3 separate regions of the Homo sapiens genome follow, and regions 1 and 2 are each linked to region 3. Evidence: promoter capture Hi-C in human tissues and cell types (Jung and others, 2019). All regions are on one chromosome and are shown on one strand. Each heading gives the region's core, a stretch centred on a gene start or on the middle of the fragment in contact. The rest is flanking DNA. Distances are from core to core; before and after follow the strand shown. Region 1 overlaps LINC01808 (long intergenic non-protein coding RNA 1808). Region 2 has its middle 100 kb from the start of LINC01376. Region 3 holds the start of OSR1 (odd-skipped related transcription factor 1).

Region 1 (3,715 bases), core at 1,063-3,562, 140 kb after region 3:
CCATGGATTTGATTTTCCTTTAAGTGTTCTTAAATTTAGAAATGAAGGAAATAGAGGAGAAGAGTCCTGCAAAAGAAGGTTTGAGTTTTTTCAAATTCAAAAGAATTTTTTTTTAAGTTTCAAATATTTGGCAACAACTGGCAAAATCAGCTCTTCTCGCCTTATGCCCTGGGCTTGTTAATGTCACTTTGAACTGGACTCTTTTGTCTTTACTGTGCTTGGGCTCTACATTGTAAGCAATGAATTTCTTTTGTTTGTAAGTAAAGTATAAGCTACCAAATAAATCTCCCCATTCCAAACTCTGATAAGCAGTTTATTTTTTGCCCAGTTTATAATTATCTCTGGAAACTGCTTCCAATAAACTCAAAAGAGTAGCTCTAATGGAGAGTGAAAGTCCATGAACTAATACATAAAGCCATGTGTTCTGGGATGAATGACAGAGAAGTAAAAGTTAAGAGAATTCTAATTTACACACTCCCCCAACATGCCGTGTGACCTATTCAAGTCCTTTAACCTATCTGGATTTTGGTTTCCTGATCTATGAATGTGGCACTAAGGATTATCCTACTCACATGTAAATTACTGTGAAAATTAAGAAAATTGATGCAAAAATATCTTGCAATATTTAAGCACATTAAGAGTGTGATATTACAGGAACCTCCTGAACCATGTTTCCTTCCGTTCTTCCCCTGGCTCAGCCTTCTCATCCTTTAAAATGCCACTCAAGTATCATCTCCTATTGCCAAAAAGTCTTCTCTGAAGCTTCTGTTCTCACACATAGCACATCACTCAATAAATATCTGGTCATATATCTGCCTTTGCCATCAGAACACAAGCTTTGCAAGATGAAGAACCTAGTCTTATATCTTATCCATTGGTTTTCGTTTGGGGTCACCAAAGGTTTTTTGAGCACCTACTCAACACTCATAGGTCTCAAAGGCTGAAAATTAAATGCCTAAAACTCAGTCCCTGATGTTAAAGAATTTATGGTTAATTGGGTAGAGCAAAAGCAGAAGACAATCACAGCATAATGTTGCAAATCCAGACCTGAATGGGGCACCTTGGGAGTAGAATGGACCCAACTCTGCCTGTATTGCAGGCTGTAAGACATTCTTCTCCAGGACCTGGGGAAGGCATGCTCTAACTTTCACTCATTCACTTTCAACGGGGTTTCTAAAAGATATCAGCATCAGACCTAATCTCGTCCTTCAGAAGGAAGTTTTCTATCACCACCCACCAAGTACAAGTGATGTCCTCCAGGTATTTCCCACAAATTCCGGTGACCAAATAACTTTGGCACTGTTGACCACACACCCAGGTGGTGCTACATATATAGGCCTCGTAACAGCAGCTAATGAATCATTCCCTTTGGTTACATAAAAAGCAAAGCCAAAGTCGCCTCTGGCACCCACTTTGAGTTAGCTCAAGAGCAGCCCCATGTTAAAGTCTTAGCTACTTCAGCTGGTGTTTCTTTGCAAATTCACATTTAGAAATAATAGTCTTCCCTTAATTCTGCAGAATGATTTACATTTTACAAAATGCCTTCACATCCATCATCCTATCTGATTCTAACAACCACTCACTGCAATGAATACACCAGGAGTTATTTTATGGATGAGGAAACTGAGACTAGGTAACTCAGACTAAAGCCCAAGTCTCCTGATTCCTATTCTAGTCATCTCAAACTGCACAACACTGCAGCACAATTGCAGAGGAGACACTCAGTGCTTCTATTACCCCTATTTTTCATGAGTTAGTCAAGTCAGCCAATGTTACCTTAGACCGGATCATCATCGAAGCACAGAGCTGGGTGAGGAAGGGAAGAGCAGAGCTGCCCTGACTCTCAGAAACACTTGGCTGGTAAGAGAAACAAAATAAGTGTGCAATCAACTACACGAAAAAATCAAGTGAAGTGTGTGACATGAAAACACCTGATTTGGGGTCCCAACCGTTCTATAGTTCAGTTCTGTGTCTGGATTTACAAGACCTGTTGTGGTTTAGTGACTCATAGCTGATGGGGCCTTAAACCTCTTATAATCCCCTTATGTTATTAATACAAATGCAGAAGCAAAGCCAATAAGGAAAATGACTTTCCCATTGCCCCAAAACTAGTTAATGGCAAATGTAAGATTAGAACACAAAACGCAGAACCTCACCACTCCCCAAAAGACCATTATCAAAGATTGTTTTACAACCCTGGGATGTTTGCATCCTGGCTTGTGTTTCCCTATATATAGTGTGAAGGACGTTGAAAGAAGAGTAACAGGACCCAAACCTCTTAATAAATGGATATTTCAATGTATTCTCAATATTTAGCTACTCAGTGGAATTATTTTCTGATTCATCTATGTTGTCTTATGTTTCAGTGATTCCTTCTTTATTGCTGAGAATTATTCCATTAATAGATATAACACAATTTGCTTATCCATTAACCTAGTTATGGACATTTGGTTGTTTCTAGTTTTTGAATTTTGTAAATTATTCAATTATATTTCCTTCGTTAGCTTATTAGCTATAACTTTTTTGTCTTTTTCATTTCAGTGGTTGCTTGAGGGTTCAAAGCATACATATTAACTTATTACACTCTACCTTCAAGAGATATTATACCATTTCATGTATAGTAAGAGGACTTTATAATAGTTTACTTCCATTTCTTCCTTCTTGGCCTTTGTGCTATTGTCATACATTTTACTTTTATACCTATTATAAACATCACACTATGTTGTTATTATTTTTAAGCAGTCAAGAATTATTTAAAGAGATTTAGATAATAGGAAAAAATCTTATGTGGTTACCATTTTATGGGCTATTCATTCTTTTGTGTAGACTTCCCTTTCTATCTAGTACCATTTATCTTAGGTCTGAAGAATTTTGTCAAATGTGTCTTGTAGTGCAGGTCCACTGTGATTAAGTGTTTCAGGTTTTGCATATTTGAAAAAGTCTTTTTTTGGGGGGGTTATTTTTTAAAGATATTTTTACTAGATATATAAGTCTAGGTTAACAGGTAGTTTGGGGTTTTGTTTTGGTTTGTCTTTATGTTGTTCCACTGTCTTCTAGCTGATGAAGACAAGTTTCTGATAAAAAATCTGTCTAGTCTTTCTTCCTATGTGTCTTCTGGCTGCTTTTAAGATTTTTTTTCTTAATCACTGCTTTTGAACTATGCTATTATAATATTTCTCAAGCTTGGGGTTTATTGAAATCTTAAATAAATGGCTTTAGAGTTTCTATTACATTTGGGAAGTATTCAGCCATGATTGCTTCAAATACTTCTGTCTCCTTTCTACTTCATAGCTCCAATTACACAGATGCTCACTTCTTTGGAGTTTTCCTACAACTCACTGATACTTCATTTTACTTTTAGCCTTTTTTTTCTATTTAATTTTGGATCATTTCTGTTGTTATGTCTTCATGTTCACTATCTAGTCTTCTGTAACATCTAATCTGCAGTTAGCTTAATACAGTGTATTTTTGCCATAGCCATTATAATTTTAACTTCTGAAAGGCTGATTTGGATCTTCATTTTATAATTTGCATGCCTATTGAGTATAGATGCAGTTATAATAATTTATTTTATGTCTTTTGCTGGTAATTCTAAGGTCTGTGTCAGTCTGGGTCCATTTCAATTGATTTATGTTTCTCCTCGTTATGAGTTCTATTTTCCTAGTTTGTTGTTGTTGTTGTTGCATGCCTGGTACATTTTCATTAGATGCCACAC
Region 2 (3,790 bases), core at 95-2,594, 230 kb before region 3:
CTACAAAATGGGTTGGATCTGATGGCCTCCAAAAACCTGTTCAGCTCTGCCAGTGGGTAGAAAAGTGTTACCCAGAGACTAGAGTCTGGCAGGTCAAGTCTGGAGACAGCAACATGACTCCATGCCAGATGTGTCTTAACAATTCAAGTGGCCTTTGATTTCCGGTCTTTGGTACAAGACAGCAAACCCCAGGATATGCCCAGCCATGCATACTTACGCCCATGATTCTGTAGCCTTCTCACTGGTAGAGACTCCGGGAAGTTGCCTTCTCCGCATCTGGAGCAAAAAGAAGTCCAAAGAAGATTCTCTTCCTTCATTACCTTGAAAGCCCTGTTCTAAAATCCCCCAGGTCTCTAGAATGAAAAAAAAAAAAAAAACTTTTTAAATATCCCAATCGAATTCATTTTTAACTGCTCCCCCACCAAATTCACTTAAGATTTCATCAAAACCCTATTCAAATCGTTACAGTAAATGTGATAGTAAATTAAAAGCTTGTAGCACAAAATTAAGCCAAGTCAACAACCATTTTCACTGAAAAGATGGCTAATTCCCATTGGTAAAGGGGGAGAATTAAATGAGTAGTGGAAAATAACATTGCCTGATTAGGAAAAAATAAAAATAAAACCTAAAATGAGAGTCTGGGACTTTGAGCTCAAGTTTTAATTTGGCCCCTATATTATAAGGTCACTGTGAATAAGCCCCTCTCTTTTTGTGTTCTTGGTTTTTCTTCTCCTGTTAAAGAGAGAGAGAGTGAAAGAGAGAGAGAGAGAGAAAGGAATTAAGTTGAGGCCCTTTAGGCTTAGCATTCCAAAACTAGGAGGAGGGAGGGGAGAATATTTCTCTTAAGAGTGATTTAGGAATAGGTTTTTCTTTCTGAGTCTGCAAGTCAGAAGAAAACAAGTGATGTGAACTCCCCAGCAAACTTCCGAGAAGTACTGTCTCCATTCGCACAGGTCTAAGATGCTATCAGTACAGAACTTTCCACCTTTGCTAACATTCCTTATCTTCTGTCATCTGCACAGTGACTGTGAAAAATGTTCTCAGTGGGTGTTTCTGATTCATTTTCGTGATGGTACCATGATGTCTGAAGAAGTTAAAGTTTAAACTCTTTCCCTTCCCATTGGTCTTTACAACTCTGTGGATCCTGCCAGTAACTGGGCCAATTCCTAAAGCCTGAGGTTTCCCAGAAAGGCAGATCTGAGCAGGGCAAGTGCTGTATTGCTAAGGAGAAAAGTCATTGGTTTTTAAATGGTGCTCTTAAAATGGTGCTCTTATAAGGCGGCAACAATGCTACCCAGCCTGTCGATGTCTCCATATCCAGCTGGTGTTATGAAGATCTCTATCTAGGAATAAACTTCCTCAAAGATAAAACAACAGGCTTGAGCTTTGGAGACAATAGTAATATTGTCTTGAGCATTTGAGACACTACTCCGAAAGGCACTTAGAGAACACAGTGTATTCTTCTCGTTAATTCCAATACAATTTATGTATTGTTCAGGAACTAGCCCTGAGCAAAGTTAGAGAAGAGTCAGTATTCGGGGTCCTTGAAAACATTAAAGTCAACCTGCAATCCTCAGGGGCTAAAGAGAATTTTTTTTAGTGTGACATATTTTATAACGTTGTGACTGCCACACAGGCAGGGATTCAGGGTGCTTCCCAACTTTCAGTCTCAGCTTCAAACACACCTGAAGTATATGCAGGTGTGCATGTGTGTAGCATGTGTGTGCACGAGTGCTGGCCTCTTTATAAGTTTGCATGTGTTTGTGTTGGCGTGTGTCTGTGTACAAAGTGTGCCTGGCTGTGAGCCTGGCTTTGTGGTGGGCAGGGTAGGGACTTGTTTTGAGTGCAGAGGAAGTGAATGTCAGAAACGGAGCATACTGGGATACTAGGATACACATGCCTGCACAGGTGTGAGTGTGTAGAGAGATGCATGCACATCAGCTGTGTCGAGTGTGTTTTCATGTATGGAGAAATGGGGTTTTATGGATACGTATGACTGTAGAGAGGCCTACAGAATTACCAGTCTTTATGCTCAACAGAAGACAATGCTGGTCCAACCCAAACCCCATCTGCTCTCAGGCTCCCTCATTTATTGCAGAGTTTTTTCTGAACACTTACTAAGTGTGAAGTCTTTTGTTAGATACTGGAAAAGAGTACAGAAATAGGAGATAAGATTTATACTCTTAAAGAGGTCACCACACAGTTTGAAAGACCAGATACACACACTTGGACAGTAGATCATCCCCCAACAGAAAACAGCCTGGTCAAGGCAACATTGTCTGAACAAAGCTGCCCAGATACCTGTTACCTTATTTCAGGATATCTCAACAAAACTTATAGCAGCAACAAAAGGAATATTTTCACCATGCTGAGAGAATTCTCTGATATCAAATTGTTCAGTTAATATAGACTCTGTCATGTAAGACAAACTGTAAATAACATATTTACCAGTTATATGTATGAGATGAACTTTGGATTTATCCTAATTAAGGAACTGAAAAGAATGTTGTAAAGATTAAATAAATTCTAATGATGATGATAACCATGTTGACAATGATAGTTCAGTAAGATTAGTCTAGATATTTATTACATCTTCAAATGTGCTGGGCATTGGATTAAGTGAGTGCAAAGATTTGCATGATGAGTTTGGATGGTGTCTGTGTAAATAGAACACTCTGAAAAGAAATGCGAAGAAGTCTATAAGGAGACAGAGAGGAGTGCTGGCAGAGAAAGAGGCAGGTGTGAGGACCTGGCTCACTTCCCACAGGACCTGTGCTTCCCAGGGAGCCCTCCAGTGACCCCGTGCTTTGCCAAGTGCCCCAGCACAGTGCTGTTAATTGAGTAAGGCTGAAAAGGAGGCCACTCCTGGGAGACTGCTTTTGTATGAGTGGTGGTCATCCTTGCGGCTAAGGTGGTTATTCAACCCCTAGTCCATTCTACTCCCAGCTCACTGCTTTAGCAAAACCTGGCCTGAAACACAAACCCCCCTATGTCTTATAAATAACTTCATATGGTGTCACTTTCAAAGTCAGCACAGATTTTAAGTTTGCCACAGCATTTCCATGAGTATCTACACTAATAACCAATCTCCTCAAATTGGTAGTTCTCTGAGGTTACCCAAAACTTTCATATTCACAGTTTAATTCATCTGAACAATCAACCTTTGAGGTAGGAAGAATTAGGCAACCCAAGATTATTCTAGGGCAGATCAACCCATGTGAAAAGAGTAAAATTAATATTTATTCATTAAACATCTACACATTGGAAGACACCTGTTGCTTTAAACTGGCCGATAACCAACAGGTGACAGTCATTGTATCTTCTGCAGGACAGGAGGACCCAATCCCTTGATGGTGGAGCAGGTCGATTCTGGAGCAGACTGACACTCTGAGCTGCCTTGCTCAGGTGGAGGGGAGGGATTGGCCACCCAGCTAAGGTGATGGCTGTGGGTTCTATACCAAGAACCAGGGCCACGCGAGGTCCTAGTTTAATATTCCACTGAAGGAGACATGACTGAGAATTGAACTGCAATAACAATAAACTTTGGTTATTTTCACCAAGAAATTTACATATTGTTAATGAGTATAATTATTAATAAAATCACTATGCTTATTTTTATATTACTTCTTATTTAAATCAGTTTAAAAGAGTTTTGTTTAACTTCTGTTGTAATTATTTTTTTAGTAGTTCAAGTTTTTCCTGAACTCCTAGGGATAGGTTTCTAAGTATGTGTGTGGATGTTTATTGACCTAGACTATTGATCAAAAAAATAAATCTAAGATGAATCCAG
Region 3 (3,815 bases), core at 1,277-3,776:
GGCCAAGCCAGCGGCCGTGGCTGTGGGACTCTGGCCTGCACACTGTCCCGAACCCGCTCCGTGCCTGGGTGGGAGAAACCACCAACCTCGCTAGGCCTTTCCTCGCCTTCTTCCTTAGAGCCAAGACCGGAGCCGTCTTGGGCTCCGTAGGGGGTGCCGGGAAGGGGGAGTGCTTGCAGCTATAATGGTTCCTGGGAGCCAACCTTTCCGGGCTATCTGCCCGATCTTGTTTTCCCCAACACTACATTTATTTTCTTCCGCGGCCCAGCCCGTTCCTTGTTTTCTGAAGCATTCGGAAGCCAGTGCTCCCCAGGCTCCCGCCAACGACTTTCCCCAGGACGAAATTCATTCGAAACGTGGCTCTTTACACTAGTATCAAGAATGGGCCGAAAGCACGATCCGGTTTCAGGAGGTCGGTTAAGAGAAAAACACAGTCTCACCCTAGCCTCTCCAGCCAGAAAGGATGAGTGAGCCCCCGGCTCCTCCGGCTCCGGTTTCCCAGACCGCGGAACCCCAGGGCGAATACTTTCGATCTTTAAACACAGGATGGAAAACCCTTCCCCAGGCTAGGCACCCATTCCTCAAACAGCTTGGGCCTCAGGACCTGCGGGAAAGAATAAGGGGACCCGACCACGCACAGCAGACGCAATTCGCGCTCGGGATCCCGAGTCCCTGCGCAGTGCGGGCACTCGCGTCCCTCGCGCGGTGGAGCGCCAATCCCAGGTCTGCGGCCAGTCCTATGCTGGGCATTAATGAAGTGTGCAGAGTCTATTAAAGTGGTTTATTCGGGGCTAATTGAGCGTGAGCAAGTTAACTGCTTGCATTAATGAGAACGGGAGCGAACTCCACGAGTTTGCGCCTGGGGGAGCCCAGCAGCAACCCAAGAAAATCAGCCTTGACATCGAATCTCCAACGAGTGGTGACAGGCGTCCGGACCCCCGTGAAGAGGACTGACCGGCACCGGATACTTCTATAGCATTCTCCCAACAAACGAGATCTAACGAACCCATTGGCAAGGCGGTCATCCGGCTGCACTTAAATGTCCGCTGCGTCCTCGGTGATCCATTCCCCAATCTTAATAAAACAGCAATTACCTCGAGGAGCCTGGGATGGAACATCTACACGCCGCCGGTCGCTGCTAGTCCCCTCCAGCGCTTCTCTTCCCTAGGGGGTTGTGAACCTGGGACACCTAGCCTTGCACGTGGTTTTGTTCCGCAGAGCCAATGCGCAGCTCTTAGCCTGGGTGAAATTTACCAAATTGTGGCAACAAAGAAACCCTTGCGGCTACTTTACACATTGAGAACCCAACCCGCTACTGCCTGAGCTGCTGAAAAAGGACTAAACGTGGTTTTTCATTCTTCTCCGAGACATTTCCGAGGAGAAATTAGTTCAGCAGGCAGCCCTTCACCCCTTTCCCCCTTCTTTCTCTCCTGACGGCTGGATTAGCGGACAGTCAGGGGAGTAACAGAACTTTTCCTGTCCCCAGCCCGGAGACCCTAGGGCTCCACAGAGTTTCCACTAGTGCTGTGTGTGGGTCTCGAATTGGAAAGCAGTGCTTGCGCCCACTGCATTGCCTCCCTGCACCAGGACAATCAAGGGTTCCGCTCCAGGCCTTGACGACACAGAGCAATCATCCTATGGAGAATATCCCTAAGTTAGAGCGCGAGTGCAAGGCGGGGTTCAGACTCGCAGCCCTGCGCTCTCGGGTCTAGGCGGCCTCATACTAGAGCGCAACTCCTCAAAAGACAAACTTGAACGAAAGCGCTACCGAGCTGGGGCATGCACCTGTCCCTGGCGCGGTCGGCTGCGGCTGTGGCCATTCACTCCCTCTCCCTTCCTTCTTCGTCAACCTGGGCGTCAGCCAGAGCTAGGAGCGCGTCTCAGGAAAGTTTGTGCCCGCTGAAGTTGCTCTGGTTTCTTAAAGGGGGCCCACAGATTGACTTTCAAAGTCCGTGGGCACCTCGCCCGTGATTCCGCAGAGCCGGGCGGGCTGGCCGCAGTAGCGGAGGCCCGCCCCCCTTAATCCCCAGCGGTCAGAGGCCGAGGACCCCGCGCAGGAAGTCCTGAGGCAGCACCCCCAACCACCCTGCTCTCACTTTCACAAAAGTCCTACAGCATTCGTTTGGCAAGAGCTTCCTTCAGGGGCATTGAGAGAGAGGAGGCACCCGCCGAGCAGTGACAAGGAACCTGGGAGTCCTGCCCGCATTCGCTTTGCTGAGCCCAGGCGCCCAGGACTGCAATTACCTTGTTCCGCAGAGGTCCTGGGGCTGAGCACGTCTCTGGGGCTTTAGCTGAAGGGGACTGGGGAAGCCGGAGGCCCTGGAGCCCACAGGCGCCCCTGGAGCTCTAGTGTCCCGACTCCTCTCCTGCCGCGGGGACTCCAAGCGCCGGACACGCGGGAGCGAGCGCTCAGCAGCCCCGGATCCTGCACGCCGGGGACGGTGAGCCTCGCTCGCGGCTCCCTCGCTGGGTCTGAACCAGGAGCAGCTGAGAACGTGCCGGGGAGAGGCCGAGCTCCGACTCACTCATCCCTTAGCACCGAGCCGCCTACTTATTTTAATCCACCACCCTCCCTCCTCCACCACCCCCACCCCCGCCCCTTGCCTCAGGATTCCTCCCCTCCCTCCCCTGCCCCCCAACCCTGCCCTGCGCCTGCGCAATGAAAGACAAAGTTTTTGCTGACCCGGGCAGCAGACTTTGGCAGCTGCTCTCGCTTGGACCCGGCCTCTCCCAACCTGCGTCCCCTCCTCTTCAGTCCCGCGCGACCCCTGCTGCCTTTTTAGGTCCAGAGCGGCACGCCTGGCGCACTGGAGGAAACGGTCCCTAGCAGATGAGAGCGGGCTGGCACCGCACGTTTCGAGGTCCTATACTTGGGCTCCTAGGACACAGCCCGTGCTCTTTGGGAGGAGGGAGGGAGGGGCAGTAGCTCTGTGCACCGGGATCCCCACACCGCGGCTTGGGTTTCAACGCACTTTGGCGCCTGACAGAGTCGCATCTCCTCCCAGAATCTCTTTCCAGAGGCGGCAGACCCCGAGTGTGGAGCAGCTCCTGGCTATCCAAGCGTGCTCGGGGCCAGGGTGTTAACCCAGGCAGCGCTGGTTAATTCCTGGTGCGGGAGGGCCAGGGTCACCGAAGCAAGCGAGCTGTAACATCTGAGTGCTTATGGTTGACCCCAGACCCTAAGTTCTGGAGTCCAGTAGAAAGAACAAAGAGTAGGGAAAGGAGGTCAGGAAAGTTATTTTCCTGGGGCCCAGAACTCTCTGAGATTTCACCCCAATGCACAGTGGCACTCTCTACTTACATATTTGTTTTAGGATGGATCAGAGTTTAGAGAGCCGCACTGGCAAGCTAGACGAGCTGCAAAGTTGTCAGTTCCAGGGCCTCTGAGTCAAGGAGCTGGTTCAGGTGGAGTTTTTAATCGGAAAGGAATCAGAGTTCTGGACATTAAAAATTCTATCTTCATTGCCTAGGCATTATGGAGGGTACCATCACCCCCTTGACTACCCATCTCTGAAAGCTGACCTCCGGCTGACCCCAGCCCAATCCCTCCCTAATGCCTTTCTGGAATACCCTTCCAGGCCTTGGGTTTGGCAAGGAGGAGTCACTGGTTTCCTGGGACTTGTGTGGGTCCAGATCACACAACTGCACTCTCTGCCTTTGCCCCAGAGTTGCTGCTGAGTGACTCTTGGAGCTGGATCCTAGATTCCGTGGGTCCCTAAGTACTGTACTGCTTCTCTCCCGAGGAGCTTCTGCTATCTCCAGCTTTGGTTTGCAAAGCTAATCTGATTTTCTTGGGAGGTGAAGAAGGTTGTAAT

What was found. The method cuts DNA at HindIII sites, captures the fragments that hold promoters and counts their contacts. A contact is called where the count stands out against the background at its distance.
Region 1: a fragment that was not itself captured here is called in contact with the fragment with the promoter of OSR1 in region 3 in 1 of the 25 tissues and cell types used here (aorta).
Region 2: a fragment that was not itself captured here is called in contact with the fragment with the promoter of OSR1 in region 3 in 4 of the 25 tissues and cell types used here (H1 embryonic stem cells, IMR-90 fibroblasts, aorta and 1 more).

What each region holds. Positions count from the first base shown.
Region 1 is chr2:19,495,512-19,499,226 of GRCh38, forward strand. All of the region lies in intron 5 of LINC01808 (long intergenic non-protein coding RNA 1808), which reads left to right. Among named protein-coding and RNA genes, the nearest start is that of LINC01808, 28 kb to the left of the region's middle. The HindIII fragment of the contact is 4,827 bases long and covers 1-3,715 here.
Region 2 is chr2:19,125,035-19,128,824 of GRCh38, forward strand. No RefSeq gene overlaps it. Among named protein-coding and RNA genes, the nearest start is that of LINC01376, 100 kb to the left of the region's middle. The HindIII fragment of the contact is 7,121 bases long and covers 1-3,790 here.
Region 3 is chr2:19,356,097-19,359,911 of GRCh38, forward strand. It overlaps OSR1 (odd-skipped related transcription factor 1), which reads right to left and starts at 2,527. Exons shown (of 3, transcript NM_145260.3): 1 at 2,245-2,527. RefSeq lists enhancers at 1-240, 241-1,205, 1,871-2,399. The HindIII fragment of the contact is 12,145 bases long and covers 1-3,815 here.